7 separate regions of the Homo sapiens genome follow, and all the other regions are linked to region 1. The links are contacts of gene promoters, found by promoter capture Hi-C in blood cells and fetal thymus (Javierre and others, 2016). All regions are on one chromosome and are shown on one strand. The core of a region is centred on a gene start or on the middle of the fragment in contact, and the rest is flanking DNA. Distances in the headings are between cores, read along the strand shown.

Region 1 (4,175 bases), core at 1-2,500:
CCATCGGCCTTGGCCAATCGGAGAATGGAATCATCTGACTCACCCTTAAGAAAAAAAAAAAAGCACACTAAGAATATTTCCACTCCGGCTGCCTGAGATGGCAGAAGGTCAGCTGTGCCACCAGCCCACGTCTCTCCCCCGCTGAGCGAATGGAGACAGGCGCAGAAGGGGAGCCACCTCTCCCGGGGCAGCCTGCAGCCTGACTATGGTGGAGCGGGGTCGGGGGGGCACCTCCTAGTGAGAGGCAGAGTCTGCTGCCTGAGTGTCTTCTCAGAGCACCCCTCTTCCACCCTCAAGAAGCGGCAGGCGGCCAGCCCAGTCCAGCTGGCTCAAACTACTCTGCCAGCAGATCTACTCAGGCACCATCACACACTCCAATGCGCACGGTAAAGTCCACGATGTCCCGAAGTGATGAGCAAAGCCCAGGGAAACACTCACCATCCTACGAATGGCCCCGCAGATAGCATAAGTTTTAAACTGGCCATTAAACCTGCCTGTGACCTTGTCAACCTAGAAAGAGAAGAAGGGTCACAAACCACTCCCCCAGGTTTGGGAAACACCAATCCTCAAAGCCAGCCTCTGCCTGTACCTTCACCCCAGGGGCTCCTCCACAATGGGACAGCCTGCCTTTCCCGCACATATATCACAACCTTCCCGCCTCCCGGGCTCCCAGCTCACCTCGGCCACGTTCATCTGGATGGATGCGTGGTCCTTGGCACCGATGATGCGATTGCTAGCGGAGCTGTGGAGAAAGGGCGCAGTGAGCAGAGGGGACTTGGGCGGTAAGAATGAAAGAGGGGACGAGGGAGGTTGGGGGTATATGAATGGAAAAGAGTAACGTCGGGGGCAGGACAAGTTAGGGACGTGACGAGGTAAGGACGGGAGGGGTGTGGGGGAACAAGGGCAGGCGAGGGGACGTGGTGGTTAGGTAAGGACGGAAGAGAGGCATGTGGGGGGCGCTTACCATTTCCGCGGCACGTACAGGTCCACGAACTCGCCGGCGTCGTTCTGCATTTCGAGGCTGGGCTGCGCCTGGGGAGTCACCGCGCGGCGCCGTGAGTACGGCCGGAACCGTGCCCCGGCTCCCGGCGCAAACCGGCCCCTAGGGTCACGGCCCCAGCCGCACCCAGCACCCCGCACCCCGTCCCCCGCGTCCAAGCCCCCACTCCCGCCCCAGCCCCAGCCCTGAGCCCGAAGCCCGCGCCGCGCGCCACACCTGCTGCCACCACACCGCGCGCGAGAGAGAAAGGAAGCAGCTAGTCACCCGGCAGAGATATCGGCGGGCAAGGAGGGGCCTCGGCGAGCGCTTCCGGGTCACGCCACCACAGCGAGTCTGCGCGGTGCGTGCTTGCCGGCCGTCGCCGTGACGCACTTCCGCTTCCGGCAAGGAGGTTCTCGGACCCCAGCCTGCTGGCCCTGGGGCGCGGGGCGTCGTGGGGGTCGTTGTCGTTGAGGGTCGTTGCCGTGTGTGGCGTCTTAGCCTGGCCCCTGGGTTGTGCCCCACGGACGCAGTCGACCCCTCTGAGCGCCTCGGGAGCCCCGAATAGCAGCTGGGAGAAGGGGCGAGGACTGAGCCTCGCTGCCCGCTGCCGGCCGGGCTAGAGATACGGGCGTGCCCCCCATTGTGCGCCTCCCGCCCTCCGGTCCCCTCACCCTGCGGCCACCTGGGGCGTGGGGCGGTGCTCCTGCCCGTGCACGTAGCCGCTGCGAGCGGAGGCCTGCTCACCTGGTGCCTGCTACTCACTCCCCCGGGCCGGTGGGCGAAGGACACCCGCAGGAACTCGGCAGAGGAGAAATTCAGACGGCTCCCGAGGGTAGGAAAAGACCCCGGCCCACCGTGGAATCTGAAACACCCGACCACTCTGCCATCCCATGTTTCACCAGTCAGACCCCCAGGGCAGGGCAGGGGAAGCAGAATGCAAACTGGGGCACCGTTTCCCTGAAGCGTGTTGGCCGCGTTTGTCGTAGTGCTAGAGGTGCATACCCTTGGACCCCGAAAACCCATTCCTGGGAATTTGCTCCAAGGAAGTAAAGATGTTACAAAGATGGACCCACGAAGTATGGTCGTTGGTTATGGGTGGGGTCTTGAGGAAGGCCTTGTTAGTAGCCTGAACCCTGTTGCCAGGAGAAGCTCCAAACCGGTAGACGGAGGGAGCAGCGCGGCCTATGTTGGGGTCTTCTCTGGGCGGGGGACATGATCCTAGGATGTAGAACTAGCCTCAGAAAACTTAAGACTCAGTGGCCAGGTGCGGTGGCTCAGGCCTGTAATCCCAGCGCTTTGGGCGGAGGTGGGTGGATCACCTGAGGTCAGGAGTTCGAGACCCGTCTGGCCAACATGGTGAAACCCCATCTCTACTAAAAATACAAAAAATTAGCTGGGCGTGGTGGCAGGCGCCTGTAGTCCCAGCTACTCGGAAGGCTGAGGCAGGAGAATGGCGTGAACCCGGGAGGCGGAGCTTGTAGTGAGCTGAGATCCCGCCACTGCACTCCAGCCTGGGCGACAGAGCAAGACTGCGTCTCAAAAAAAAAAAGTTTTTTTATGTTTAATTTTTTGGGTACATAGTGGGTGTGTACATTTATGGGGCACATGAGATATTTTCATACCGGCATGCAGTGCGTAGTAATCACATGGGGTATATGGAGCATCCATCACCTCAAGCATTTATCCTTTGCGTTACAAATAATCCAATACTATACTCTTTTAGTCATTTTAAAATGTGCAATTAAATCATTATTGACTGTAGACACCCTGTTGTGCTATCAAACACTAGGTCTTATTCTTTCTGTCTTTTTATACCCATTAACCATCCCCATTTGCCCCCCTCCTCCCACTGTTCTACCCTTCCCAGCCTCTGGTAACCATCTTTCTACTGTCTGTCTCCACAAATTCAATTGTTTTAATTTTTAGCTCCCACAAATAATAGTGCTGTGATAAACATCGTAGCACATGTATCTCTTCCTTTCTTTCTTTTTTTTTTGAGACAAAGTCTCGCTCTGTCACCCAGGCTGGAGTGCAGTGGTGCGATCTCGGCTCACTGCAACTTCTGCCCCCAGAGTTCAAGTGATTCTCCTGCCTCAGCCTCCTCAGTAGCTGGGACTACAGGCATGAGCCACCACACCCGGCCAGGTATCTCTTTCATATACTGATTTCCTTTCTTTTGGGTATATGCCCAGCAGTGGGATTGCTTTATTTATGGCAGCTCTATTCTTAGTTTTTGTTTGTTTGTTTGTTTGTTTGTTTGTTTGTTTGAGACGGAGTCTTGCTCTGTCTCCCAGGCTGGAGTGCAGTGGTGCGGTCTTGGCTCACTGCAACCTCCACCTCCCAGGTTCAAGCGATTCTCCTGCCTCAGCCTCCAGAGTAGCTGGGATTACAGGGGTCTGCTACCACGCCTGGCTAATTTTTGTATTTTTAGTAGAGATGGGGTTTCACCATGTTGGCCAGGCTGGTCTTTAACTCCTGACCTCGTGATCTGCCCGCCTTGGCCTCCCAAAGTGCTGGGATTACAGGCGTGAGCCACTACACCTGGCCTACCAAACATTTTTTAAAGAACTAATACCAATCCTACTGAAACTATTCCAAAAAATAGAGGAGGAGGGAATGCTTCCAATCATTTTATGAGGCCGGTATTATCCTGATACCCAAATCAGACAAAGACACATCAAAAAAAGCAGATTAGAGGCCAGGAGTGATGGCTCATGCCTGTAACCCTAGCACTGTGGGAGGCTGAGGCAGGCAATTGCTTGACCTCAGGAGTCTGAGGCCAGCCAGCCTGGGCAACATGGTGAAACCCCTCTACAAAAAAATTTAAAAATTGGCCGGATGTAGTGGTGTGTGTCTGTAGTCTCAGATGCTCAGGAGGCCGAGGTGGGAGGATCAGTTGAGCCAGGAGGTGGAGGCTACAATGAGCCATGATCATGCCACAGAACTCCAGCCTGGGTGACAGGAGACCCAGAAAAAAAAAGAGAGAGAAAGGAAGGAAAGAAAGAAAGCCACAGACTGGCAGAAAATATTTTCAAAACCTGTATCTGATAAAAGACCTGTATCCAGGCTGGGTGCAGTGGCTCACTCCTGTAATCCCAGCACTTTGGGAAGCCAAGGCGGGTGGGTCACCTGAGGTCAGGAGTTGGAGACCAACCTGGCCAACATGGCAAAACCCTGTCTGTACTAAAAATAC
Region 2 (4,175 bases), core at 1,171-3,670, 480 kb before region 1:
GAAGGCAGAGCCAGGTGCACAGGATGGAACATGAAGGCGGACTAGGAGCGTGACCACTGAAGCACAGCATCACAGGGAGACGGTTAGGCCTCCGGATAACTGCGGGCGGGCCTGACTGATGTCAGGCCCTCCGCAAGAGGTGGAGGAGTAGAGTCTTCTCTAAACTCCCCCGGGGAAAGGGAGACTCCCTTTCCCCGTCTGCTAAGTAGCGGGTGTTTTTCCGTGACACTGAGGCTACCGCTAGACCACGGTCCGTCTGGCAACGGGCGTCTTCCCAGACGCTGGCGTCACCGCTAGACCAAGGAGCCCTCTGGTGGCCCTGTCCGGGCGTAACAGAAGGTTCACACTCTTGTCTTCTGGTCACTTCTCACCATGTCCCCTCAGCTCCTGTCTCTGTATGGCCTGGTTTTTCCTAGATTATGATTATAGAGCAAGCATTATAAAGAGTAATTGCTACAAACTAATGATGAAAGATATTCATATATAATCATGTCTATGATCTGTATCTGGTATAACTCTTGTTGTTTTATATATTTTATTACACTGGAACAGCTCGTGCCCTCGGTCTCTTGCCTCGGCACCTGGGTGGCTTGCCGCCCACATGCCCCCATTGCAACGTCAGGTTCCCATTCTTTCCCAACTTCCCTAACTTTAACAAAAGAGGCACTGCAAAGTCGAAACTGCAGTTTAGGCTGTAATTAAATCATCCAGGAGACTAGGCTTCAGGTTTGCTTTGCAGAAATCTCAGCCCCATGGCTACAGGAGATAAGGACTTACTTTAAGGCAGTCATAGAGGCTTTCAGGTTCCTTTTTCAGACTCCAAGCCAGGCATTTAAAGCATCGAGAGCTGGAGCTGCTGTGTCCATCACCAGCAGGTCCTCGTCCTGCTAATTCCTGTCTACAGCTTCACCAGCACATGGGCCAGTGAGATGTCCCTGCCTCCCTCTTTCTTCCTCAGTTCTTTCTCTTCCCCCTTGTTCAATTTGCCTGGAAGCATGAAAGAAGAAAGCACAGGGCCCCCCAAGCCCCTCTGCTTCTGCCCATCACAAGTGCCACGAACCCATGGTCCCCGCCATCTCCTCTCTCTTCTCCCGCCTCTTCAGCAAGAAGCAGATGCACATTTGGACGGTTCGATTGGATGCTGCCTATACATTGTGTATAAACTGAAGTTAGGGGAGGTACTCACCACAGTTCCTGCCATTGGTTTTAACATGGAAAGAGTAGAATATAAGAACACTTGTTTTGGGCCAGGCACGGTAGCTCATGCCTATAATCCCAGCACTTTGGGAGGCCGAGGCAGGCAGATCACAAGGTCAGGAGTTCAAGACCAGCCTGGCCAATATGGTGGAACCCTGTCTCTACTAAATATACAAAAATTAGCCAGGCATAGTGGTGGGCTCCTGTAATCCCAGCTACTCGGGAGGCCGAGGCAGGAGAATTGCTTGAACCCGGGAGGTGGAAGTTGTAGTGAGCTGAGATTGCGCCATTGCACTCCAGCCTGGATGACAGAGCGAGACTCTGACTCAAAAAGAGAACACTTGTTTCATGGTGTGGGATGTTCATGGTCAAGATGTAATTAGGCTTCTCTGGAAGCATTACTTCCAGAATACCCAGGGTTTTCTTTTGCTGGTAGATAGCAACGATCATGAAAGAATTCGGGAAGTGGCGGACGCGCTGCAGAAAAGGCTTCTGGCCGGTGAGTGTGGAGACGCAGCGCCACTGCTCTCTGCAAACAAACAGGGTTTGCCCAGCGCTCGGGCCATCAGTGTGACGACAGATGAGCCAGCCAGCTCTTCAGTCTCTTCCTAACAGGACATGGTATGTTCAAGCCACTTGTGCAACACGGAGCTGGTGTAGATGAGGGACTTGACTGGCTGTCAAATGAGTTTTCAAAACGTTAAATGAAACTAGACATCTAACCAAAGACATGTTTGATAAAATTGGTCTAGACTTGCTACAGCAAAATTTGTTTGTATCTTGGTTAAGAAACAGCATCTGGGACTGGCTTGGGCAGAATAATAAACTTATTTTGTTGCCAATTATTGTTTGCCAAATATAATGTTGTTATTTAGCAATGTGCTTGGTTTTAAAGAAATTCTTCTTGGGAAAAAGGTGTCCTCATTTACTTCCCATGAGCCTAAAGCCTGGACATAGTTATTGTAAAACCTTTAAATAAATCCACCTTGGAAGTTAAGATACATAAAAATAAATAAGGTGGGGCGTGGTGGCTCACGCCTGTGGGAGCACTGTCTGTGAGGAGGTGAATCCCTTGAGCTTGTTGGAGACAAGGCTGGGCAACATGGTGAACCTTGCCTCTATTTAAAAAAAAAAAAAAAAAAAGGCCGTGCACGGTGGCTCATGCCTGTAATCCCAGCATTTTGGGAGGCCGAGGCGGGGGGATCATGAGGTCAGGAGATCGAGACCATCCTGGCTCACATGGTGAAACCCCAAACCCCGTCTCTACTAAAAAAATTAGCTGGGCATGGTGGCACGTGCCTGTAATCCCAGCTACTCGGGAGGCTGAGGCAGAAGAATCGCTTGAACCCAGGAGGCGGACGTTGCAGTGAACCAACATCGTGCCACCGTACTCCAGCCTGGGTGACAGAGACTCCATCTAAAAAGAAAAAAAAAGAAAAAAAAAATTCGGCTGGGCACGGTGATTCACACCTGTAATCCCAGCACTTTGGGAGGCCGAGGCAGGCAGATCACTTGAGGTCAGGAGCTCGAGACCAGCCTGGCCAACATGGTGAAACCCTGTCTCTACCAGAAAAATACAAAAAATAGCCAGGCATCGTGGCATGTGCCTGTAATCCCAGCTGCTTGGGTGGCTGAGGTAGGAGAATCGTTTGAACCCAGGAGGCAGAGGTGGCAGTGAGCCGAGATCGCACCACTGCACTCCAGCCTGGGTGACAGAGCAAGACTCCGCCTCAAAAACAAACAAATAAATAAATAAATAAATAAATAAAATAAAGCACTGACTCACCATTTTCTTTTCCCAGATTATCCAGAGCACTTGGGCAAAAGCCTCCACCCCATTTTTACTAGAATGTTCAATGGCAGCCTTGGTTCCAGAGGCACTTGGTTGAATTTTGCCCATTGATGCTCATTTGCATGAATTATCAGCGCCTCTTTCCCGTGAGAAACGGTTACCAATGCTTTTAAATCAAAGGCAATCAAAGATCCAGCTCCAGAAAACCCAGAACCAGCTTTGATCACTCCACATCACGGAACAGAAAAATCAATTGGCCCAGGAGTCCAAGAAGCTACAGGAGGATGAGAGGAAGGGGAGCAGTTGCCGGCAGGCCTGGTGACCCTGCCCTGCTCAACCTTCCAAGAATTTGAGAGAGAAAGAAAGAAAAAAAACCCTGCTTGCTGCGGTCTGAGTTTGTATCCCTCCAAGATTCATACTGAAACCTAATCTGCACTGTGGTGGCATTAAGAAGAGGGGTCTTTAAAACAATGGCCGGGTGCGGTGGCTCACGCCTGTAATCCCAGCACTTTGGGAGGCCGAGGCGGGCGGGTCACCTGAGGTCAGGAGTTCAAGACCAGCCTGACCAACATGGTGAAACCCTGTCTCTACTGAAAATACAAAACTATTAGCCAGGCGTGGTGGCACGTGCCTGTAATCCCAGCTACTCAGGAGGCTGAGGCAGAAGAATTGCTTGAACCCGGGAGGCAGACGTTGCAGTGAACCGAGATCATGCCATTGCACCCCAGCCTGGGCAATAAATCGAGACTCCATCTCAAAAAAATAAATAAATAAAAAATAAGAAGAGGGGCCTTTAGGAGGTGACTAGGTCATGACGGGAGAGCCATCATGAATGGGATTAGTGCCCTTTTACAAGAGGCCTGGGGGAGCTGATTTTCTCTCTCTGCCACATGAGGATGTGGCAGGAAGGCAGCATCTGAGCGGAACAGGCCCTCATCAGCCATCACATATGCTGGTGCCTTGATCTGGGACTTTCCAGCTTCCAGAACTAGGAGCAATACATTTTTGTTGTTTATAAGTGACCCAGTCTAAGGTGTCTTGTTATGACAGCACAAATGGACTAAGACACTGCTGGGTTTTTATTGGAACTGCATACATCAGTTTTGGGAATAACAGACATCTTAACACTATCGAACCTTCCAATCCATGAACATAGTATATCTCTATATTTGTCCATCTTTTTAAT
Region 3 (4,175 bases), core at 537-3,036, 470 kb before region 1:
AGAGATGAGGTTTCACCATATTGGCCAGGTTGGTCTCGAACTCCTGACCTTGTGATCCGCCTGCCTCGGCCTCCTAAAGTGCTGGGATTACAGGCATGAGCCACCACACCCGGCCTATAATTGGGTTTTCATAGAATATTTCCCTAATCTATAATTAATTAACTACATAATGTATCGAGTACTGGTACTGTGTACCAGTTTCTGCTTTAAGTTCAGGAAATAAATAACAGTGAGTGAGACAAATACTCAGGTTTGAAGCTCCAAGGTTGAATGTTGAGCTAAGGCAATTTATTTATTTATTTATTTTTTTATTTGGTGAGATGGAGATTTACTCTTGTTGCCCAGGCTGGAGTGCAATGGCACGATCTCGGTTCAACGCAACCTTCGCCTCCCAGGTTCAAGCGATTCTCCTGCCTCAGCCTCCTGAGTAGCTGGGATTACAGGCATGCGTCACCACGCCCAGCTAATTTTGTATTTTTAGTACAGGAGGGGTTTCTCCATGTTGGTCAGGCTGGTCTCGAACTCCTCACCTCAGGTGATCCACGTGCCTCGGCCTCCCAAAGTACTGGGATTACAGGCTTGAGCCACTGCGCCTGGCATGGCAATTTCTTTTAAAGGGATCTATTCAAACTTGCTGGGGCAGGGTGCAGTGGCTCATGACTGTGGGCCGAGGTGGGAGGATTGCTTGAGCCCAGGAGTTTGAAACCAGCCTGGGCAACATAGCAAGTCCCCGTCTCTAAAGAAAAACCAACAATACTAGTAGTGGTGGTGTTGCACACCTGTCGCCCCAGCTACTTGGGAGGCTGAGGTGTGGGAGGATCACTTGAGCCTGGGAGGTCAGCGCTGTAGTCAGCTGTGATCATGCCACTGCACTCCAGCCTGGGCCACAAAGTGAGACCCATCCCCCAAAGAAAGAAAATTAAAAAGCTAGCTAATATCTTTTTATGATACTTTTATACACATGGACTAACTGAGGGCCTTCCTCACCCTACTGTGAATTATGAAGGGCATTTTGCTCCGACATTTATTTAATAGACATTTATTGAGTACCTGCTATGTGGAAAGCCTTACACCGTACGTTGACAGTTTGAAAGTTGGACTTCTAGCTCTACTGCGTAGACTTGTGGTTAGAGTTCAGTGAGCTGATGTGTAAAGAGTGTTTCGCTCAATGTCTAGAAGTCCAAAAGCACCTAGTAAATGCCAGCTGCTGTTTTACTGGCAAAGTCTCTAATTAAAGTTCTAAATAGACGGGTGTGAAGGTGAGTAACAAGGGCCATATTGAATAAGTTGCTCAGTATCTGCTTGTTTAGGACTTTGCATGTTACTGAATGTAATATGTAAAAGTTTAAAAAATAGTCTAATAACAAGACTCCAATTGTTTATCTCTACAAAGACCAAGTTTCAGAATATTAACAGAGTGTTGGGCCGTGATCCTTTCTGAATCAGGGCCCCTTGGAGAAAGCTGTGCACGAGTTCCTGGTAGGGTATTTAGCCCGTGAAGGGCAAGTAATATCAGTCTTGAATGACAGAGTTATCTGCCCAATTTGGACCCCTCAGTGGTCCAAATGGAAGAAGGTGTCAGACACAAAATGTTGCTTCCAGTTTCAGGGGCTTTGGAGCCATCCCTAATCTAGAGACTTGAACCTGGCCCGTGAGAAGTAAAGAGGGAAAGCTCCAGGGAGCTTGTGGGTCATGGGGCCGCCAAGGGCACCCGAGGATGCTCTGGCCTCTGGAAGGCAGTGGCTGCCTCTGTAGACAAGGCCGTGGCAAAGCCGTGGGGCTTCCTGTGGTGACAGGCGCTTCCGTGGCACTCAGTGGCCAGGATGCACGAGCTCTGGTTCCCTCAAGTACTACAGGAGACGCTTCCTTTTACATGTTTGTTTTGCTCCGGTCTCTCTCGGTGATGACTTTGGGTTTTGACTATAGGCGCAGAATCCGCATTTGCTGTGATGAGTTGAATCTCTTAGTGCCGTTCTGCAATGCCGAGACTGACAAGGCCACAACTCTGCAGTGGACCACAGCATTCCTGAAATACATCCAGGAAAGACATGGAGATTCTCTTAAAAAGGTTAGTGGTAGGCCAGGTAGATTTTCAGAATTTTACAAATTTTACTTAACAATGTCCCTCCTTTTTCCTAAGGATAACTCAAACTATCCTTTGTTTCCTGGAATCTAACATCAAATACTAAGTCCAGTATGAGCAAAGCTCTGCTCTTTAATGATATAACTTGTCATTTATTAAAGTAATAGTCACAGCCTACATGTGTTACACTCAGTGTGTAAATAACTGTGAAGAGGCAATTGTCAGATAGCAAATTGGGCACCTGCTGTGTACGGTATATTGCACTGGGGCTGACGGGTGTGTAGGACATGATATTTGCCCTCAGAAAAACTTGTGAAAGGGATAAAAGCAAGAATAGAAAAACAAAAACCGGCCAGCCACAGTGGTTCACGTCTGTAATCCCAGCACTTTGGGAGGCTGAAGTGGGAGGATCTCTTGAGCCCAGGAGTTTGAGACCAGCCTGGGCAACATGGCAAGACCCCATCTCTACTAAAAAATACAAAAATTAACCTGGTGTGGTGGCGTATGCCTGTAGTCCCAGCTGCTCGGGGCGGGGGCTGGGAGGGAGGATCAATTGAGCCAGGGAGGTCGAGGCTGCAGTGAGCTGAGATCATACCACTGCACTCCAGCCTGGGCAACAGGGCAAGACCCTGCCCCACCCCCACCCACCCCAAAAAAGAAAGAGAAACAAAAATGCAGATAAGTGTCAAATAGTCTGATCTGGACTTCAAATATGCCCAGCAGGTTAATAAGAAATATACTTCTGTGGACTGGGTGCATATACTTCTGTGGACTGGGTGCATATACTTCTGTGGACTGGGTGACTATACTTCTGTGGACTGGGTGACTATACTTTTGTGGACTGGGTGACTATACTGTGGACCGGGTGACTGTACTTCTGTGGACCGGGTGACTATGCTTCTGTGGACCGGTGACTGTGCTTCTGCGGACCGGGTGACTGTACTTCTGTGGACCGGGTGACTATGCTTCTGTGGACCGGGTGACTATACTTCTGCGGACTGGGTGAATGTACTTCAGCCGACCGGGTGACCATGCTTCTGCGGACTAGGTGACTATACTTCTGCGGACTGGGTGAATATACTTCTGCTGACTGGGTGAATGTACTTCTGCAGACTGGGTGACTATACTTCCATGGACTGGGTGAACATACTTTTGTGGACTGGTTGACTATACCTTTGTGGACTCGGTGAATATACTTCTGCGGACCGGGTGACCGTGCTTCTGTGGAATGGGTGAATATACTTCTGCGGACCAGGTGACTATGCTTCTGTCAACCAGGTGAATATACTTCTGTGGACCGGGTGACTGTACTTCTGTGGACCGGGTGAATATACTTCTGTGGACCGGGTGAATATACTTCTGTGGACTGGGTGACTAGGGAGGAGCCGGCGTGTTAGCGCCAGCATATGCAGTCCCTCAGGACAGCCAGCCTGCCGTGATCCTGTCTGTGTGGTCGTGGCAGTGGCCTGCAGCAAGCCATCGTGGTTGGCTGGAACTAGACGTGTGATTTGAATGCAGGAGTTCAGTCAGCCCCTCAGTGGCCTAAAAGGAAGAAGGTGTCAGTCACAGGGCTGGTTCTGGGCCCTGCCTTGGGGGGACCCCAGTTCCAGGGTTCTGGGCCCTGCCTTCAGGGGACCCGAGTTCCAGGGTCCTGGGCCCTGCCTTTGGGGGACCCGAGTTCCAGGTCCCGGCCTCAGCGTTGCAGTGGCCAGGGTCAGTGGCTCTTTGGCCCTCTAGGAGTGAGCAGACCTTAGTGAAATAGATCCACAGGGTCCTGACTTTGTACCTGGTCCAAGCTGTTGGGGAATTGCTGCTGTTGACCCAGGCAGGAGTCTGACTAGAGAACAAACTAAGGTTGCTGCAACAAACAAGGACCTCTTCCAAGAAGGGCTCCCAGGCCTGGCGCAGTGACTCATGCCTGTGATCCCAGCACTTGGGAGGCCGAGGCGGGTGGATCATTTGAGGCCAGGAGTTCGAGACCAGCTTGGCCAACATGATGAGACCCCCGTCTCTATTAAAAATACAAAAATTAGCCAGGCGTGGTGGCGCCTGTAGTCCCAGCTACTCAGGAGGTTGAAGCAGGAGAATTGTT
Region 4 (4,175 bases), core at 188-2,687, 450 kb before region 1:
GCGCCTACTAACAAGTCAGTCTCAGGGATTTTTACAGCAGGGTGACCGTGTCATGGGGTCAAACACTCACCTCTGGGCCCGGGGTCTCCCAGCTCCCCAGTGGGACCGCGGTATCCAGGGGGTCCTCGAGCGCCAGGGTGACCAATGGAGCCTGGGGGTCCTGGGGGCCCAGGGGGGCCAGCTGGACCGGGCCGACCAATGGACCCGGGTGCCAAAGGCTTCCTTAGGTGCGCGGCTAACTGTGCAATTTGTTCTTTGGGAAAACAAGGGTGCAGGCGTTTACTCGAGAGAGGATCATCAGAAGTATTGTTACGTAAAGCATAAAATATCTACACGGTGCTGTCTTCCAGAAGCAAGTTTTCCTTCTGATTGATGGAAAATGGTTTAACTGCTTTGGGGTGATGAATGCTGGAGCTAGAAAGGACCCCCAACCCCTTGGAGCCTGAGAAGCCTGAGTGGGAAGGTGAAGGAAGTGCCCTTGGGGGTGTTTAGGGACCTGCCCTGCCAGCCACAGGGGCACACTCCGCTGTTCTTGTACCCATTGCATTCAGCAGGCTTTAGGGCGTCTGCTGCGTGCTGGGAATCTGGTTGAATCCGGGGCGGGAGCGTGGGCCATCCTCTAGCGCAGAGGACAGGCAGACGCCAAGGCGGACGTGGACCCCCAAGGGCTAACAGGCGGGGTGAGTGCTAGGGGCTCACTTTGGCTGGAAAGCAGTGGCACGAAGGCTTTCTGTGTAGCCCCAGGCACGGGACCCCCAGGCGGGGATGGGCCCCGCTGCAGCCGGTGCACGTGGCTGACTTACCGCTGATCATCCCCCCACACAGCTCCCTGATGCGCTGCTCGCTGGCCTCCTTCCCCTGGAATTCACCCCACACATTCGTCAGCATGGGGGCGGCAGCCTCGGTGAGGCATTCCCACCGTCACCCCGCAAAGTAACTTCCTTCCGGAAAAAACACGATCTCAACCCTGTGAAAGCTGGAAAAGCCGGAAAAGCGACGTACCGGAACTCCCGGCTTCCCCGTGATGCCAGGAACACCCGGGACGCCCTGCAGGCCCAGAGGACCGGGGGGCCCGGGGACACCCTGAACACCGCTGGTGCCGTTGGGACCCTGGGTGCCTTTGGGGCCCAGCTCCCCTCGACTGCCAGACTGCAGAGGAACAGAGGAAGGTGGGTCAGGGGCGAGCCCAGGAGCCCAGAGCCACCCCGACGTGCTCTTTCCCAGCCGGCACGGAGCCGTCTTGCCCAGCCTTGACCAGAGCAAGCTTTTTTACATCTCGGATCTGGGCAGTGCCCTGCAGGGCTGCCTGGTTGCCCAGAGGTGGGCAGGAAGCCAGCAGGCGCCCATGGATGGTGTCATCGGAACAGTCGCCGGGCACTCACCTCTCCTTTGGGTCCGACCAGGCCGCTGGGACCCTGTGAAGAGAAAAGTTGTGTGTTTGAACTAAGTGTATTGTTGGGTGGGTGGGAAGTAGCCAGTTGAGGATAAAATAAATCAAATCATCCACACACCTGCTATTAGACTACATCCAAATATTGACAGTGGTTCCTTCCGTTCTTCTATATACATTTTTTATATTTCTGTGATTGCACTGATTGATTGAAGCTTTTTAAAAACTTACTTTCCTGGGAAGAGTGACTTTGTTAGCTGCACGGTGCTGTCTCTTACACACGCTTACTTTGCTTCCATTCCTTTTTCTTACTAACACGCCTAATGCTGGGCTGAACCTCTCTGCCCTAAAACCCTGGAACCCCCTCCAGCTGGGTCCTCAGGAATGACTGGCCCCAGGTGCGTCAACACACAGTCAGCCGGGTTAATGTCTCCTCCAAAACACATGCTGCAATTGAACGGCCACTGCACTGCAATGCTATTAAGAGGTGATTAGGTTTGAGAGCTCGGCTCTCCGGAGTAAACTAACACCGTTGTCTCCGCAGTGGGTTCCTCATGAAAAGGATGGGTTGGGCCCCTTTCTCTCTCTGGCACCTCCTCTTGGCCCTTCTGCCTTCCACCATGGAATGACGCAGTGGGGAGGCCCTCGATGGATGCACCCCTCGGTCTTGGGCTTCCCAGCCTCCAGAACTAGGAGCCACATGGATCTCTTTCCCTTGTAAACTACCCAAGCTGCGGTGTTCTGTTACAGCTGCAGAATACAGACTGACACAGTCTAACCGCACAGCAGAGGGACCGACCGGGCCCAGACAGCATGCTCCGCGGAGGCCAGGAGGGTAGGGGGTCACCTCACACAGCCCGACCGTGCGAGTAGCTGAGAGCAAAGCCTTAGGTTTTCCGCCTGCAAGGGGCTCTGCCCCTCACCCCACCAGCAACAGTGGCCACGTAGGGCAGCTTCTGGGATTTCCAGGGTCCATTTGTCAGTGTTGTCTAAGAATTCACTAAATGGGCTGGGCGAGGTGGCTCACGCCTGTAATCCCAGCACTTTGGGAGGCCAAGGCGAGCGGATCACAAGGTCAGGAGTTTGAGACCAGCCCGGCCAACATGGTGAAACCCCATCTCTACTAAATACAAAAATTAGCCGGGTGTGATGGTGGGCACCTGTAGTCCCAGCTACTCGGGAGGCTGAGGCAGGAGAATCGCTTGAACGCAGGAGGCAGAGATTGCAGTGAGCTGAGATCACACCACCGCACTCCAGCCTGGGGACAGAGCAAGACTCCGTCTCAAAAAAAAATAAAAAAAGAATTCACTAAATGAAACACATACAACTGAGGTCTTTTGTCCCCAGGCATAAAAAGTTTACACTGGGCTGTGGGGGTCTGCCAGAGACTGGGGTCCCTGGGGCTAGGCTGTTTCTATTTCACCCAGACGCAAAGGAAAGACTTAATCATAGATGAAAACCCCCCTCGGGAAAGCCAGAAAGGCCGTCCTTCCCTCGGACTCACGACTGCTCCATTTGTTACCTCCAGAAGGAGAAATGTGCCTATCAAGGGACTCAAACAAGAACGTAATTTTATGCTTCACCTGAGTTTTAGGCCTGTGGAAGTGGAGTTTTCTTCAGTTAAAAACCAGCTGTGGGCCTGACACGGCGGCTCACGCCTGTAATCCCAGCACTTTGGGAGGCTGAGGCAGGTGGATCACCTGAGGTCAGGAGTTTGAGACCAGCCTGGCCGACATGGTGAAACCCCGTCTCTACTAAAAATACAACAATTAGGCCAGGGGCGGTGGCTCGTACCTGTAATCCCAGCACTTTGGGAGGCCGAGGCGGGCAGATTGCCTGAGGTCGGGAATTCGAGACCAGCCTGGCCAGCATGGTGAAACCTTGTCTCTACTAAAAATACAAACATTAGCTGGGCGTGGTGGCAGGCGCCTGTAATCCCAGCTATTCAGGAAGCTGAGGCAGGAGAATCGCTTGAACTGGGAAGGTTGCAGTGAGCCGAGATGGCGTCACTGCACTCCAGCCTGGGCGAAAGAGCGAGACTCCATCTCAAAAAAAAACAAACAAAACCCCCCAAAACACAAAAAATTAGTCGACTGTGGGAGGGCCTATAATCCTGGCTACTCAGGAGGCTGAGGCAGGAAAATCGCTTGAACCCAGGAGGCAGAGGCTGCAGTGAACCGAGATCGCGCCACTGTGCTCCAGCCTGGGCAACAGAGCAAAACTTCGTCTCAAAAAAAACCCCCGGCCGGGCGCGGTGGCTCATGCCTGTAATCCCAGCACTTTGAGAGACCAAGGCGGGATGATCACGAGGTCAGGAGATGGAGACCATCCTGGCTAACACGGTGAAACCCCGTCTCTACTAAAAATACAAAAAATTAGCTGGGCATGGTGGCGGGCGCCTGTAGTCCCAGGTACTTGGGAGGCTGAGGCAGGAGAATGGCGTGAACCCGGGAGGCGGAGCTTGCAGCGAGCCGAGATCGCGCCACTGCACTCCAGCCTGGGTGACAGAGTGAGACTCGTCTCAAAACAAAAAACAAGAAACCCCAAAAAACCAAAAACAAAAAAACAAAAATGCAGCTGTGACTGCTTCATGCAGGTGCCACTCCACGGGGCAGAGTGCGGGAGCCCACACGTCTGAGCACCGGGTCAGGTCAGACTCCAGAGCCGCTGAGTTTCCCTGCCAGGCCCTGCCCACTTGCTAAGGGATGGCCAGTGGCCAAGGCCTCTGCCCGACCCTGCTCCATCCCCACGCTGCCCAGCAGAGCTGCCGATCTTCCACCGGGAG
Region 5 (4,175 bases), core at 1,676-4,175, 430 kb before region 1:
TCCAAGTCATCCTGGCACAGAGCTTCCTAACAGAGGACTTTTGATTACGGGGAGAGGTGGGTGGAGCAGGTCAGCCCAGACAGCAGGGGGCCTTAGGGGCTCCCAGCACCAGCCCCACCCCAAGCCCAGGGTCTGGGGGACAGGATAAGTCCTCCCTACCAGTTCCACCTGGCAAGATGACCCTGTGGCCAGCCCCCTCCTCAGTGGCTCTCCCCTGGTCCCTGGCCCCACACCCCACTTTGCCTATCCCCATGATGCCCAGCATGCAGTCAGCAAGGACTGCTATCTGACCCAAATCAGACAAAACACAGCTGGCCTTCACCTCAGGCCAGGGGAGCCACCTCATGCCTGGGACACCTGCTTGGTGTCCCCCCCGAACCACCTTCAAGCCCCTCAAAAAACCACCCCCAGCTCCAGGCAGATCCTAGGCAGAGGGTGGGCACTGTCAGAGCTCAGCCTCCCCCGGCTCACTTTTGAGTGGGGCAGAGCCTCCTGCTGCCCGCCTGTTGTGGGTCATCACTCTCCCTGAAGCCCGGGTTGGCTGGCCAGCACTGCCTGCTGTCCCCAGGTGCCCACCGCCAGGCATCGGCCCCCAGGGCTGCTCCAACAGGCTCCTCACTTCAGGCGCTGATTTTCACCGACTCCAGCCCCACAACGGCCTGGACTGGGGACGCTGGATCTGCCGGGCGCTGCCCCAGTGACTGCACTTCTAGCCCTATGTCCAGCTCACTGCCTCAGTTTCCCTCCATGGCAGGAATCCCCTGAGCCACACTTGAGGCACCAGGGGTCCCACAGCTTCCCCACGCAGCTCTGGGGGATTATTGAACCTCGGGTGTCTCCTCCCAGTGACTTCCGGCTCGTGTATCCTGTGCCACCAGATGGGAGCTGGGCATTTTACCTGAAGTGGTACCAGGGTCTACAGCTTTAACCCTCCCACCCAGGGGTGCCCCAGGTCTGCCCTGTCCTTCACTGAGCAAAGACAAGTGTCCGGCCCCTCCTCTGAGGCCCCACAAAAAGCCCCTTACCCTGCTGATGTAGAAATGTAGGGGAACCGGGAAGCGGGGGGTCCTGGCCCAGGGTGACAAGGGCAGACTGCAGGGAGGGACTGCCCTGGGGGCACACCTGGCTCCACCAGACCTGAGGGAGCCAAGGGGCCCGCCAGAGAGTACTGCCAAGCCTGCCCGAGGCACAGCAGCGCATCCCAGATCACAGCAGGCAGAAAGGCCTGGTCCAGACCCCACCATGCACAAGCACTGCCCCGGCCAACCCCAAGGGAAGCCCCAGACTCATCTTGAACAGGTGGCAAAAGCCTGCTGAGGGACCTCGGTTCCACCTTCAGAGGCTCTGGGAGGCTGCAGCCTGCCCACCTGTTCATGCCTGGGGACTGTGTGGCCAAGTGGGTGTGTGGGGAGGGCTGGGCCACCACTCTGCCCCCACAGGCACCTGGTGGAGCAATGTGAGGCGGTCGCCGGGCCAGGCCACTGGAGCCTGGAGGGACATCAGCTGTGACACCAGCCCTACCAGCCACCCAACAGGACCCCGGTCCATACCAAAGACTCAAAGTCAAATGAATTTATTCAGAAAAGGCCTTGCTTGGTATCAGACTAAGAAAAGCAGCCCTGCCCGCCGCCCCCCACTCCAGAAGGGTCAATTTACAAAGACAGGGGCGCAGGGGAGAGCTGGGTGGGGAAGACACAGCCAGGCCAGGAGGCTTCTGCAGGCCTTGGGCTTCCCTGAGGGCCTCGCGGCTTCTGGTGGCTGCTATAGTGGCCCCACAGGAGGCCAGCACTGTGGGTCATGGGTCACGGGTCACGAAGCAGAGCCTGAGGGGAGCCCGCAGCAGCTCCGGAGGCCCCAGCCCCTGCAGCAGGGACAGGAGGACCAAGACGCCGACGGGCACTCCTTTCCTTAAGGCTTCCCAGACTTGGCAGAAGACTCCACCTCTGCGTCCTGCAACTCTGCTGCCTCCCCCGCCTTGGCTGGCTCATCCCTTGTAGGTCCTGCCGGGCTGGGGCCTGGGGTCTCCGATGGGCTCTCGGCTGGCTCGTCCCCTGCAGGTCCTGCCGGGCGGGGGCCTGGGGTCTCCGATGGGCTCTCGGCTGGCTCGTCCCCTGCAGGTCCTGCCGGGCGGGGGCCTGGGGTCTCCGATGGGCTCTCGGCTGGCTCATCCCTTGTAGGTCCTGCCGGGCTGGGGCCTGGGGTCTCCGATGGGCTCTCGGCTGGCTCGTCCCCTGCAGGTCCTGCCGGGCGGGGGCCTGGGGTCTCCGATGGGCTCTCGGCTGGCTCGTCCCCTGCAGGTCCTGCTGGGCGGGGGCCTGGGGTCTCCGATGGGCTCTCGGCTGGCTCGTCCCCTGCAGGTCCTGCTGGGCTGGGGCCTGGGGTCTCCGATGGGCTCCCAGGGGTACCTTCTTTGGGCCCCGTTCGACCTTCTGTGTCCTCCTCAACCCCGTTCTCACTGTGTCCAGCCTTGGGGTGCCCCGATGGGGCAGGGGACCCGGCAAGGGCCAAGGTCTGGGCACCACCACTGGCCACCGCAGCACTGTCCCCAGCACCCTCATCCACCTTCCTCCGCTTCCTCACCTTGTCGGCCACCCTGGCTCCCAGGGGTTGGCGGCAGGGCTGCACTGCCTCCCCAGGGTCCTGACCGCCCACTTCCTGGGTCCCCGTCCTGAGGCTGCCCTGGCTGAGGGCACACCCCTCCAAATTCAGAGCGATCTTCTCCACCTCTGAGGCACTCTGAGGGCCTGGCTCTGTGGGCGGCTGCTCCCGCCGGCTCAGCTCCAGCTTCCTCTTCTTGCTCTCTTTGGGGCTTAAGGGCTCCGGCCTATCTTCCCCGTGGCCCCCTGCCTCATCCCCCTGGCTCCTCTCCAGGGGTCCCGCATCCTGGGGCTCCACGCTCCGTGGCTGGGGCCCCTCGTCCACCCTGCCCCCACCCTTGCTATGCTCTGGCCCACAGGTCCGACCCTGGGTGCTGGCCTCGTGGTCGGGGTCCCCGGGGCTTCCTTCCTCCTCCACCTTCCTGGAGCCCTCGAGCGGATGGGGCAGAGAGCTGGGCTTGAACCTCCGCAGCTTGTCTTGGGGCCCCCAGACGAACTTGCAGCGGGGCCGGAAGTGCTCCCAGGCGAAGTGCACCAGCTGGCGGCGCTGGTGTCGGCAGCGCACGGCGAACATGAAGTAGTCCAGGGCACTCTGCCGCACCCCCGGCAGCTCCCGCCGCACCAGCGTCTCCTCCAGGAAGAAGCGGACCAGCGGCGCCTGGAAGTGCTCGAGGCCCAGCTCACCCAGCGACTTGAGGATGCGTGTGATGCGGAGGTTGTTGTGGCTGCGCCTGCGAGAGATCCGGGTCAGGAGAGGTCAATGGCTGGGGCCCCTCCTGCTGGGCCGCACCCCGCCCTGGCCTGCCCTCCCACCCGGCTCCACGAGGTCTCCCCACCCTGGCCCACGATTCAGTCTCTCTCTCCATTTACCTCTCTGGGCCCAGGGGAGGACTCATGCCATCCCTGTGAAAATGGCCTGTGGGCCCTAGACACACGGGGGTTAGGGGGATGCTGACGCATCACCTAGAGGGTGGCTGTACCCCGAGTCCCCCTGGTGGGGAGGAGCTGGCTGGATGAGAGCCACAAGGGGCCCCTGCAGGGTACAGGCGCCTCGAACACCCTGTGAGAACTGGCTGTACCGCCTGCAGGTTCTCCATCACCCCTGCTTGCTTCTCTATGTGGACTGCCACCTCCTGGGTGCAGGAAGAGCATTCTTTACCTTCTCACCAACCCTATCGGGGAGGGACCGCCCGGCTCTACAGGCAGCAAGGAGGGGACTCAGGGCCTTGGTCCATTGCCCAAACAGCCCTGGAGTTCTCCGTCTGCAGCAGCGCTCTGTGACCTGCCCGAAACCTGACGTGGCCCTGTTCTGCGCCGGGGTGGGGGTGGGCGGGAGCAGCCGGGCCTCACCAGTTCAGGTTCTGGAAGCGCTTCTGGTAGTTCTGTGCTCGGCCCACCGTGCCCGTGCCTCGGTCCTCCAGCCGGATCCCGTAGAAGCCCAGCATGAGCTCGTAGGCCCGGACAAGCCGCTCCTGGATCTCCTGGGAGCTTTTAAACACCTGGAAAAGACCCCCTTGGAGAGCTCAGGCACCATCCCTGAAGCCCCGGTTCCTGAGTGTGGGGGTGGCCGTGGGTCCC
Region 6 (4,175 bases), core at 1,046-3,545, 370 kb before region 1:
CCTGCCCTGAGTGGATCCCCTCAGCAGTGCCTGCCACACCCACCATCTGTTTTGGGAGCACTTACTTGTCCAGCACCCAACTTCCTGGTTCCCGGTACTCACGGAGTCCACTGCTCATCCGAGATGTAGCAGAACATGAGGCGCCGCACGTGGTAGGGCAGCCAGCAGACCACAAAGGCGATGACCACTGCACCTGAGGCACAGAGACGTGGGCTCAGAGACCCACTGCACCTGAGGCACAGAGGCGTGGGCTCAGAGACCCACTGCACCTGAGGCACACAGATGTGGGCTCAGAGACCCACTGCACCTGAGGCACAGAGACGTGGGCTCAGAGACCCACTGCACCTGAGGCACAGAGACATGGGCTCAGAGACCCACTGCACCTGAGGCACAGAGACGTGGGCTCAGAGACAGGACATGGGCTCAGAGACCCACTGCACCTGAGGCACAGAGACGTGGGCTCAGAGACCCACTGCACCTGAGGCACAGAGGCGTGGGCTCAGAGACCCACTGCACCTGAGGCACAGAGGCGTGGGCTCAGTGGGGGAGACATGGGCTCAGAGACCAGACACAAGCTCAGAGAGGGAGAGACGTGGGCTTGGGGAGGGAGCATAAGCTCAGAGACAGGACACAGGCTCAGAGACAGGACACAGGCTCAGAGAGGGAGAGACATGGGCTGAGGGAGGTAGACACTGGCTCAGAGACATGGGCTTAGAGACACAGAGATATGGCCTCAGAGAAGGAGACACGTGGTCTGAGGGAGATGCAGGGAGACATCCCATGTTCATGGATTGGAAGATTTAATATTGTTAAGGTGTCAGTACTACCCAAAGCACTCTACAGATTCAATGCAATCCGTATCAAATTTCAAGAATGCTTTTGGCAGAAATAGAAAAATCTGTGCTAAAATTCATATGAAATCTCAAAGGATCCCGGACAGCCAAAACAATCTTGTAAGAAAATAAAGTTGGAGGTCTTACACTTCTTGATTTCAAAACTTACTACAAAGTTACAGTGTGGTGCTGGCATAAAGATAGACACGTAGACCAAGGGAATAGACTAGAAATCTCAGAAACGAACCCTTACCTTTATGGTCAAGTGATCTTCACCAAGACCATTCAGTGGGGAAAGGACAGTCTATTCAACAAAGGGTGTTAGGAAAACGGGACATCCACTTGTATGAAGGTGGATCCTCCCCTCACACCATATACAAAAATGGACTTGAAGTGGATTAAAGACCTGAACATAAGAACTAAAACCATAAAACTCCTAGGAGAAAACATAATTACTTTACAACATTGATTTTGGCAATGATTTCTTGGGTATGACACCAAAAGCACAGGCCACAAAAGAAAAAAGTAGATAAATTGAACAACATAAACACTGAATTTCTGTGTATCAAAGGATGCCATCAGGAGAGTGGAAGTCAGCTCACAAAAAAGGAGAAAATATTTGCAAATCACATCTGATAATGAGTTAACCTTGAGAGTATAACTCCTAAAACTCAACATGAAAACAAACAATCCAATTCACAAATGGGCAAAGGACTCAGACATTTCTCCAAAGAAGATACAAATGGTCAACAAGCACATGAAAGATGTTATTAATCATTAATCTTAAATCACTGGAGAAATGCAAATCAAAACCACAACGAGATGCCACCTCAAATCTATTAGGATGGCTACTATTAAAACAACAGGCACACACTGGGACCAGGACACACCTTGGATGTTGGCAAGCCAGCCGTCCTGAGCTGGGGCTGGTCCTCAGGGTTCCGATAGGATGGGCGTTGCCCTGCTGTGGGCTTCGCCAGCCCTGAGAGCTCCGTGTCCAAAGCCCTGGCTGGTTCCCATGAGCAGGGAAGGCTGAGCCCAGAGCCAGGCTCTCTTAGGGTAATGTGCTTGGCTATGGGCCTCTCCTGTGACTGGCCACACCCTCAAACAAGCCCTGAAAATGGGCCAGCACCAGGGAGGAGCTCAAGCCAAATGCTTCAGGCAAACCAAACTGAAGACCTGGGTCTCAGGCATGAAAGGGCTTCATTCTCTCCAGTTCCCATCACACTCTCCAAGCCCTGTGTTGTTGGCAGCGTCTGCCCTGCCCCTGCCCCGCCTTCTTGCCAAGCACCTCCCACCACAGGGCCTTTGCTCCAGCCATCCCCTCGCCTGCAGCTCTGTTGCCCAGATGGGCTCCTGGTCCTTGGGACTTGCAGGATGCCACCTGCTCTGAGAGCCCCTCCCAGCTGCCAGATGTAGTCAGGGGTGGTGGTGGTGGTATTTTTTTCTTCATGCTCATCACTGGCTGAAGGTGCCTGGTGCCTGTGTTTGTGTCCTTGGTGGAGCCCCTGTTCCCCCAGAGTGCAGGGATGCCCCTGCCTCTGCTGCCTCCATGCCTGTGAGCAAGAATAGGCGAGACCCAGGGTGGGCACTCAGCCAACTGCTGAGCAAATGAATAAGTGAGCACGTGAGCAAGTGGACAGATGGACAGAGAGATGGATAGATGGAGGGAGGGAGGAATGGAACAAGGGAGGGAAGGAGGGATGGAAGGAGGGATGGATGGATGGAATGAGGGATGGAGGGAGGGAGGGATGATGGGTGGAGGGAGGGAGGATGGATGGAGGGAGGGAGGGATGGATGGAGGGAGGGAGGATGGCTGAAGGGAGGGATGGAGGGAGGGAGGGAGAGATGATGGCTGGAGGGAGGGAGGATGGCTGGAGGGAGGGAGGGAGGGAGGGATGGAATGAGGGATGGAGGGAGAGAGGGATGATGGAGGGAGGGAGGATGGATGGAGGGAGGGAGGATGGATGAAGGCAGGGATGGAGGGAGGGAGGGAGGGATGGAATGAGGGATGGAGGGAGGGAGGGATGATGGAGGGAGGGAGGATGGATGGAGGGAGGGATGGACGGAGGGAGGGAGAATGCATGGAGGGAGGGAGTGATGGACGGAGGGAGGATGGATGGAGGGAGGGATGGAGGGAGGGAGGATGGATGGAGGGAGGGAGGGATGGAGGGAGGATGGATGGATGGATGGAGGGATGGATGGAGGGATGATGGATGGAATGATGGATGGAGGGAGGGAGGGTGGATGGAGGGATGAAGGGAGGAAGGGAGAGAGGGATGGATGGATGGAGGGAGGGAGGAAGGAAGGGAGGGAGAGGTAGAGGAATGAATGGAGGGAAGGAGGGAGAGAGGGATGGATGGAGGGAGAGGTAGAGGAGTGAATGGAGGGAAGGAGGGAGAGAAGGATGGATGGATGGAGGGAGGGATGAAGGGAGGAGGGAGGGGTGGAGGGATAGAAGGAGGAAGGGATGGATGGATGGAGGGAAGGAAGGATGGATGGAGGGAGGGAGGGAAGGATGGATGGATGGAGGGAGGGAAGGATAGATGGAAGGATGGAGGGAGGGATGGAGTGCAGAATGGCACTCACCCCTCGGGGGAGCTGGCACCCTTGGGTCTTGGCCTGACAGCTCCATCCCTATGTCTTTAAACCTTGCCCAGGCTTGGGGTGGTTCAGCGCTCGCTGCCTTTGCTAGCCCTGGCCTGCCTCCCGCCCCTGGAGGGCCCAGAGGTTACGTACGTAGGACGCGCACGCCGTGCCGCAGGGCCTGGACCCTGCCAGGCTCGATGGCCATGCTGAATGTGCTGTGCTCGCCCCCGACCGTGCACACTTGGCCCTGCTCGGCCGCCTGGCGTACCATGACGGTCAGCTTGTTGGCGATGATGGTGTTCAGGACCGAGATGACCACCATGGGGAATATGAAGGACATGAAGGTGTTGACCTGCAGGAGAGGAAGGGCGAGGCTGTCAGAGCCAGCAGCGGGACTCATGCACCCTCAGCTGGGATGCCTGCCGTGCTGATTGGGGTGTCAGGCCTGCTCAGTGTGAGGTGCTCAGTCAACACAAGTTCAGGAGGTCCGGCCCTATCCCGGCTGCCCGGAAGACATGGCCACCCCTGGCTGCTGTTGTAAGCTGGCCCTCAGCCTGCCCCCGACCCTGCCTCTGACTGGGAAGAAGTTTGCAGACTCCCCTACTTTCATGAGTCCCTCCCGAGGGTCCCGCCTGTACACAGCAAGGAACACAACCACTGGGGTGTCCCAGCTGTGGCAAAGGCCCTAGGCTCTAGGTTCCCAGGTCTGGACATGTTGTGTGCATGGCTGAGGCCCACAAGCACGTGGCTGCC
Region 7 (4,175 bases), core at 553-3,052, 350 kb after region 1:
ATGAATATTAATTTCTGAAGGAACTCCAAAGTGGCTGTCCTGTTTTGCATTGTGTCTCACCAGCAGCGCATAAAGGTTGACATCCTTGCGGAAAGCTGGTATGGTCAGTCTTGAATTTTAGCCTTTTCGATGGGTGCCGTGCCATTATGTTGTGGCTTTGATTTGCATTTCCCTAGTGACTAATGCTGAGCGTCTTTCCACCAGCTTATTTGCTCATTTGCCTATCTTCTTTCGGGAGGTGTCTTTTCAAATCTTTTGTCTGTGTGTTTTAAATTGGGTTGTTAGTTTTGTCATTATTGATTTAGTAAGAGTTTAAAATGTATTTTCTAGATGTAAGTAATTTATCAGATAGAATTGTTCTGTAACTATTTTCTTGGTCTGTGTTTGCCTTTTCTTTTAGCTGCATGCGTTTTAAAGTGCAAGTTTTCAATTTTAAGGAAGCCCAATGTATCATTTTAAGAATTCATTTTGTGCCTTCTTAAATAAATCCAGTGTATCATTTTAAGAATTCGTCCTGTGCCTTCTTAAATAAATCCAGTGAGTCATTTTAAGAATTCATCTTGTGCCTTCTTAAATAAATTTTTGCCTAACCCAAGGTACAGGAGTTTTCTAGAATGCTTATGGCTTTAGCTCTTACTCAACCCAATTCAAGTTAATTTTGGGAGAGTTGTAAGGTAGGGGGTTGAGACTCATTTTTTCTGTGGTTACCAATCATGCCAGCCTTATGTGTTGAGGAGACCTTCCTTTCTCTATTGAACGATGCTGCTGCCTTTATTGAAACTCAGTCGGCCACGTGTGAGGACGTCACTTCTGGGATGTGTTCTGTCCACTCATGTCCTTGTCTTCCCTTCTGCAGCTCAGCACTTTCCAGCCCATTTAGAGGGAGTGTTGATGGGTGGCAGGAGTCCTCCAGTGCTGCTTTTTCGAAAACGTTGAGGGCTGTTCTGGTCGTTTGCATTCATGTGTTTCAGAATCAGTTCGTCAACTTCTACAAAAAAAGCCTCTTGATACCTTGATAGCTTTTTGTTTGTTTTGAGACGGAATTTTTCACTCTTTCACATCTTTTCCTGGAGTGCAGTGGCACGATCTTGGCTCACTGCAAGCTCCGACTCCCGGGTTCAAGTGAGTCTCCTGCCTCAGCCTCCCGAGTAGCTGGGATTACAGGCACGTGCCACCACACCCGGCTAATTTTTGTATTTTTAGTAGAGATAGGGTTTTGCCGTGTTGGCCAGGCTGGTCTTGAATTCCTGACCTCAGGTGATCCGCCTGCCTCAGCCTCTCAAAGTGCTGGGATTACAGGTGTGAGCCACTGGGCCTGGCCAATACCTTGATATCTTGCTTGGGATTGTATTGAGTCTATAGATCGGTTTTATGATCATTGATATCTTAGCAATATCGAGTGTTCTGATTCACGAACGTGTTGTACCTCTTCATTGATTTAGGCCTTTCAGGATTTTTCTCAGGGTTGTTTCAAGTTCTCAGTGTTTGTATCCTGAACATACTTTGTTAAATTTATTCTTAAGTATTCATATTTTATGCCATGTACGTGGTCCTTTAAAAAATTTTGTTTCCAATTGTTGCCAGTATTTAGAAAAACAATTGCTTTTGGCCGGGCGCGGTGGGTCAGTGGCTCGGTGGCTCAGTGGCTCATACCTGTAATCCTAGCACTTTGGGAGGCTGAGGCGGGCGGATCATGAGGTCAGGAGATTGAGACCATCCTGGCTAACACTGTGAAACCCTGTCTCTACTAAAAATACAAAAAATTAGCTGGGCATGGTGGCACACGCCTGTAGTCCCAGCACTTTGGGAGGCCGAAGCTGGTGGATCACGAGGTCAGGAGATCGACACCATCCTGGCTAACACTGTGAAACCCTGTCTCTAGTAAAAATACAAAAAATTAGCCGGGCGTAGTGGTGGGCTCCTGTAGTCCCAGCCACCTGGAGGCTGAGGCAGGAGAATGGCATGAACCTGGGAGGCGGAGCTTGCTGTGAGCCGAGATCGCGCCACTGCACTCCAGCCTGGGCGACAGAGTGAGACTCCGTCTCAAAAAACCAAAAAAAAAACAACAAAAAAATTGCTTTTAAAAATAGTGACTTTATAGCTCTTCCCCAAGCGGCCTGAGATGATCTGTGAAAATGGTTCATTAGTCACTTGACCCAGAAATCCCCACAAAATCGTGCAAATCCAGAGGTTCAGGTCTTCTTGATCACTTTAAGAACGCTCGTGAAACTGCCCAGGCCATCAAGGGTATGCATACGTGAGAAGTCACCAAGTGTCTGAAAGACGTCCCTTTATAGAAACAGTGTATGCCATTCCGACTTGGCAGGGGTGGAGCTGGCAGGTGTACCTAGGCCAAACAGTGGGGCTGGACACAGGGTTGGTGACCCGAAAAGAGCGCTGAATTTTTGCTGCACACAATTAAAAATGTGGAGAGTCACACTGAATGTGAGGGTGTAGATGTAGGCTCTCTGGTGTTTGAGCACCCAGGATGCGCTGTGGGACTTCCAGGGCTGGTGGTCGGGTTCATCCATACAGGGCGCCCCGTCACATTGAGACGATCCTCACGGTAAAGACACTTGTTCCCAAGCCAGGTGAGGAAGTTGCACAGAGGAAAACTGTACCAGAAGAAACTGAAGAAACAAAAACTTGTGGCATGGGAATAAACTCAGCATACAATAAATGCAATTAAAATAAAAAAAATTGACTTTATATCCTGTGGATTTCTTAGGATTTTCTTCAAAGATAGGCGTGATCTGCAGTAAAGAGTGGTTCATGTCTTTTTTTCTGGTCTGTGCACCTTTTATTTCTTGTTCTTGTCTCATTGCACTGGCCACAACCTCCAGTGTAATATGACAAACAGAAGCGTTGAGAAGGGACATTTTGCCTTGTTTCTGATCTTGGGGGAGGCAGTCTGTCTTCTCTCATGACGCACATGATGTCAGCTGCAGGTTTTTCATAGAGGCCCTGTGTTAGGTTGAGGAATCCCCTTCTGTCATAGGCCATTCTGGCTGCTGTAACAAAATACCATAGACTGGGAGGCTTCTAGACACCGGAAATTCATTTCTCACAGTCCTGGGAAGTGCAAGATTGCCATGCTGGTGAGGGCCTGCTGCCTGCTCCCATGCAGCTTCTTGTGTGTCCTCAGAGTGTGGAAGGAAGGGGCAAGGCAGCTGTGGGACAGGCTCTTTCATAAGGGCGCTAATCCGGTTAATGAGGGCTGGGCCCCCAAAGTCCCCCCGCTTCTGCTACCATCACCTTGGGGATTGGGTTTCAGCATATGAATTGTGATGGCATTCAGTCTATGCACCTTCTTTTCCTAGTTTGGTGAGAATTTTTGTCGTGAGTGGATGTTTATTTTTGTTAAAATGCTTTTCTTCCTGTATTGGGATGCTTGTATGGTTTTTCTTTTTTAGTCTGTTAACATGGTGAATTACACTGATTTAATTTTGAGTGTTAAACCCTGGCGAGTTCCTAGCATAACCCCTGTTGGTCACATGTATTATCCTTTTTATATACAGTTGCATGCAGTTTGCTACAGTTTGGTGTGTAGGTTCAGGAGGGATACTGGCCTGTCATTTCCTTGCAGTTTGTCTTGCAGTACTGCATGAGTAATGTTAGTTGCAACAGTTCACTTGCCTCCCAGCAGTTTCTGTTATTTTATATCCTTGATAGCACTGGGTGTTGTCAGACTTTTCAATTCCTCGAATCTGGGGGTGTAAAATGCTCTGATAGTGTTGTCTTAATTTTCACTTAAAAATTAATTAATGAGCCAGGCGCGGTGGCTCACGCCTGTCATCCCAGCACTTCGGGAGGCCGAGGCGGGTGGATCACCTGAGGTCAGGAGTTCGAGACCAGCCTGGCCAACATGGTGAAACTCCATCTCTACTAAAAATACAAAAAATTAGCCGGTTGTGATGGCGGGTACCTGTAATCCCAGCTACTCAGGAGGCTGAGGCAGGAGAATCGCTTGAACCCGTGAGCGGGAGGTTGCAGTGAGCTGAGATTGCGCCACTGCACTCGAGGCAGGGCAACAAGAGCAAAACTCTTTTTTTTTTTTAAAAAAAAAAAGAAATTTGATTAATTTCCTTTAATTCCTTAATGAAAATTAATTTCATTTAACTTCTTTTCCTTTAATATAGAGGAAATTAATTTTCTATGTTTATTGTTTGTGGGTA

The links. The method cuts DNA at HindIII sites, captures the fragments that hold promoters and counts their contacts. A CHiCAGO score of 5 or more calls a contact.
Region 2: a fragment that was not itself captured here is called in contact with the fragment with the promoter of RPS21 in region 1 in 1 of 17 cell types (neutrophils); the score reaches 8.6 in neutrophils.
Region 3: a fragment that was not itself captured here is called in contact with the fragment with the promoter of RPS21 in region 1 in 5 of 17 cell types (neutrophils, total CD4 T cells, M0 macrophages and 2 more); the score reaches 9.7 in neutrophils.
Region 4: a contact is called between a fragment that was not itself captured here and the fragment with the promoter of RPS21 in region 1, in 2 of 17 cell types (erythroblasts and M0 macrophages). The highest score is 5.8, in erythroblasts.
Region 5: a fragment that was not itself captured here is called in contact with the fragment with the promoter of RPS21 in region 1 in 12 of 17 cell types (total B cells, megakaryocytes, naive B cells and 9 more); the score reaches 13.2 in total B cells.
Region 6: a fragment that was not itself captured here is called in contact with the fragment with the promoter of RPS21 in region 1 in 1 of 17 cell types (M0 macrophages); the score reaches 5.5 in M0 macrophages.
Region 7: a contact is called between a fragment that was not itself captured here and the fragment with the promoter of RPS21 in region 1, in 2 of 17 cell types (neutrophils and megakaryocytes). The highest score is 10.1, in neutrophils.

What each region holds. Positions count from the first base shown.
Region 1 is chr20:62,384,178-62,388,352 of GRCh38, reverse strand. It overlaps RPS21 (ribosomal protein S21), which reads right to left and starts at 1,250. Exons shown (of 6, transcript NM_001024.4): 1 at 1,217-1,250; 2 at 965-1,032; 3 at 679-742; 4 at 439-510; 5 at 1-44. The coding sequence starts at 1,014. It overlaps RPS21-DT (RPS21 divergent transcript), which reads left to right and starts at 1,364. Exons shown (of 1, transcript NR_186459.1): 1 at 1,364-2,050. RefSeq lists enhancers at 401-1,092, 1,093-1,784, 2,063-2,112 and silencers at 973-1,162, 1,593-1,712. The HindIII fragment of the contact is 6,470 bases long and covers 1-4,175 here.
Region 2 is chr20:62,869,976-62,874,150 of GRCh38, reverse strand. All of the region lies in intron 1 of LOC105372717 (a long non-coding RNA gene), which reads right to left. It also overlaps the pseudogene ARF4P2. Among named protein-coding and RNA genes, the nearest start is that of TCFL5, 10 kb to the right of the region's middle. The HindIII fragment of the contact is 6,367 bases long and covers 1-4,175 here.
Region 3 is chr20:62,851,909-62,856,083 of GRCh38, reverse strand. It overlaps TCFL5 (transcription factor like 5), which reads left to right. Exons shown (of 6, transcript NM_006602.4): 5 at 1,927-2,068. Among named protein-coding and RNA genes, the nearest start is that of TCFL5, 7.8 kb to the left of the region's middle. The HindIII fragment of the contact is 5,585 bases long and covers 1-4,175 here.
Region 4 is chr20:62,833,161-62,837,335 of GRCh38, reverse strand. COL9A3 (collagen type IX alpha 3 chain) reads right to left here. Exons shown (of 32, transcript NM_001853.4): 27 at 1,383-1,415; 28 at 1,003-1,149; 29 at 804-858; 30 at 71-253. Among named protein-coding and RNA genes, the nearest start is that of COL9A3, 18 kb to the right of the region's middle. RefSeq lists enhancers at 348-1,547, 3,071-4,026, 4,149-4,175, 4,027-4,175. The HindIII fragment of the contact is 341 bases long and covers 1,267-1,607 here.
Region 5 is chr20:62,811,383-62,815,557 of GRCh38, reverse strand. OGFR (opioid growth factor receptor) reads right to left here. Exons shown (of 7, transcript NM_007346.4): 6 at 3,948-4,096; 7 at 1,558-3,328. The coding sequence ends at 1,909. Among named protein-coding and RNA genes, the nearest start is that of COL9A3, 3.6 kb to the left of the region's middle. RefSeq lists an enhancer at 1-328. The HindIII fragment of the contact is 7,148 bases long and covers 1-4,175 here.
Region 6 is chr20:62,754,284-62,758,458 of GRCh38, reverse strand. NTSR1 (neurotensin receptor 1) reads right to left here. Exons shown (of 4, transcript NM_002531.3): 2 at 3,573-3,774; 3 at 103-193. Among named protein-coding and RNA genes, the nearest start is that of LINC00659, 20 kb to the left of the region's middle. The HindIII fragment of the contact is 5,247 bases long and covers 1-4,175 here.
Region 7 is chr20:62,035,917-62,040,091 of GRCh38, reverse strand. The region is part of intron 1 of TAF4 (TATA-box binding protein associated factor 4); the gene reads left to right. It also overlaps the pseudogene RPL17P48. Among named protein-coding and RNA genes, the nearest start is that of MIR3195, 27 kb to the left of the region's middle. The HindIII fragment of the contact is 5,228 bases long and covers 1-4,175 here.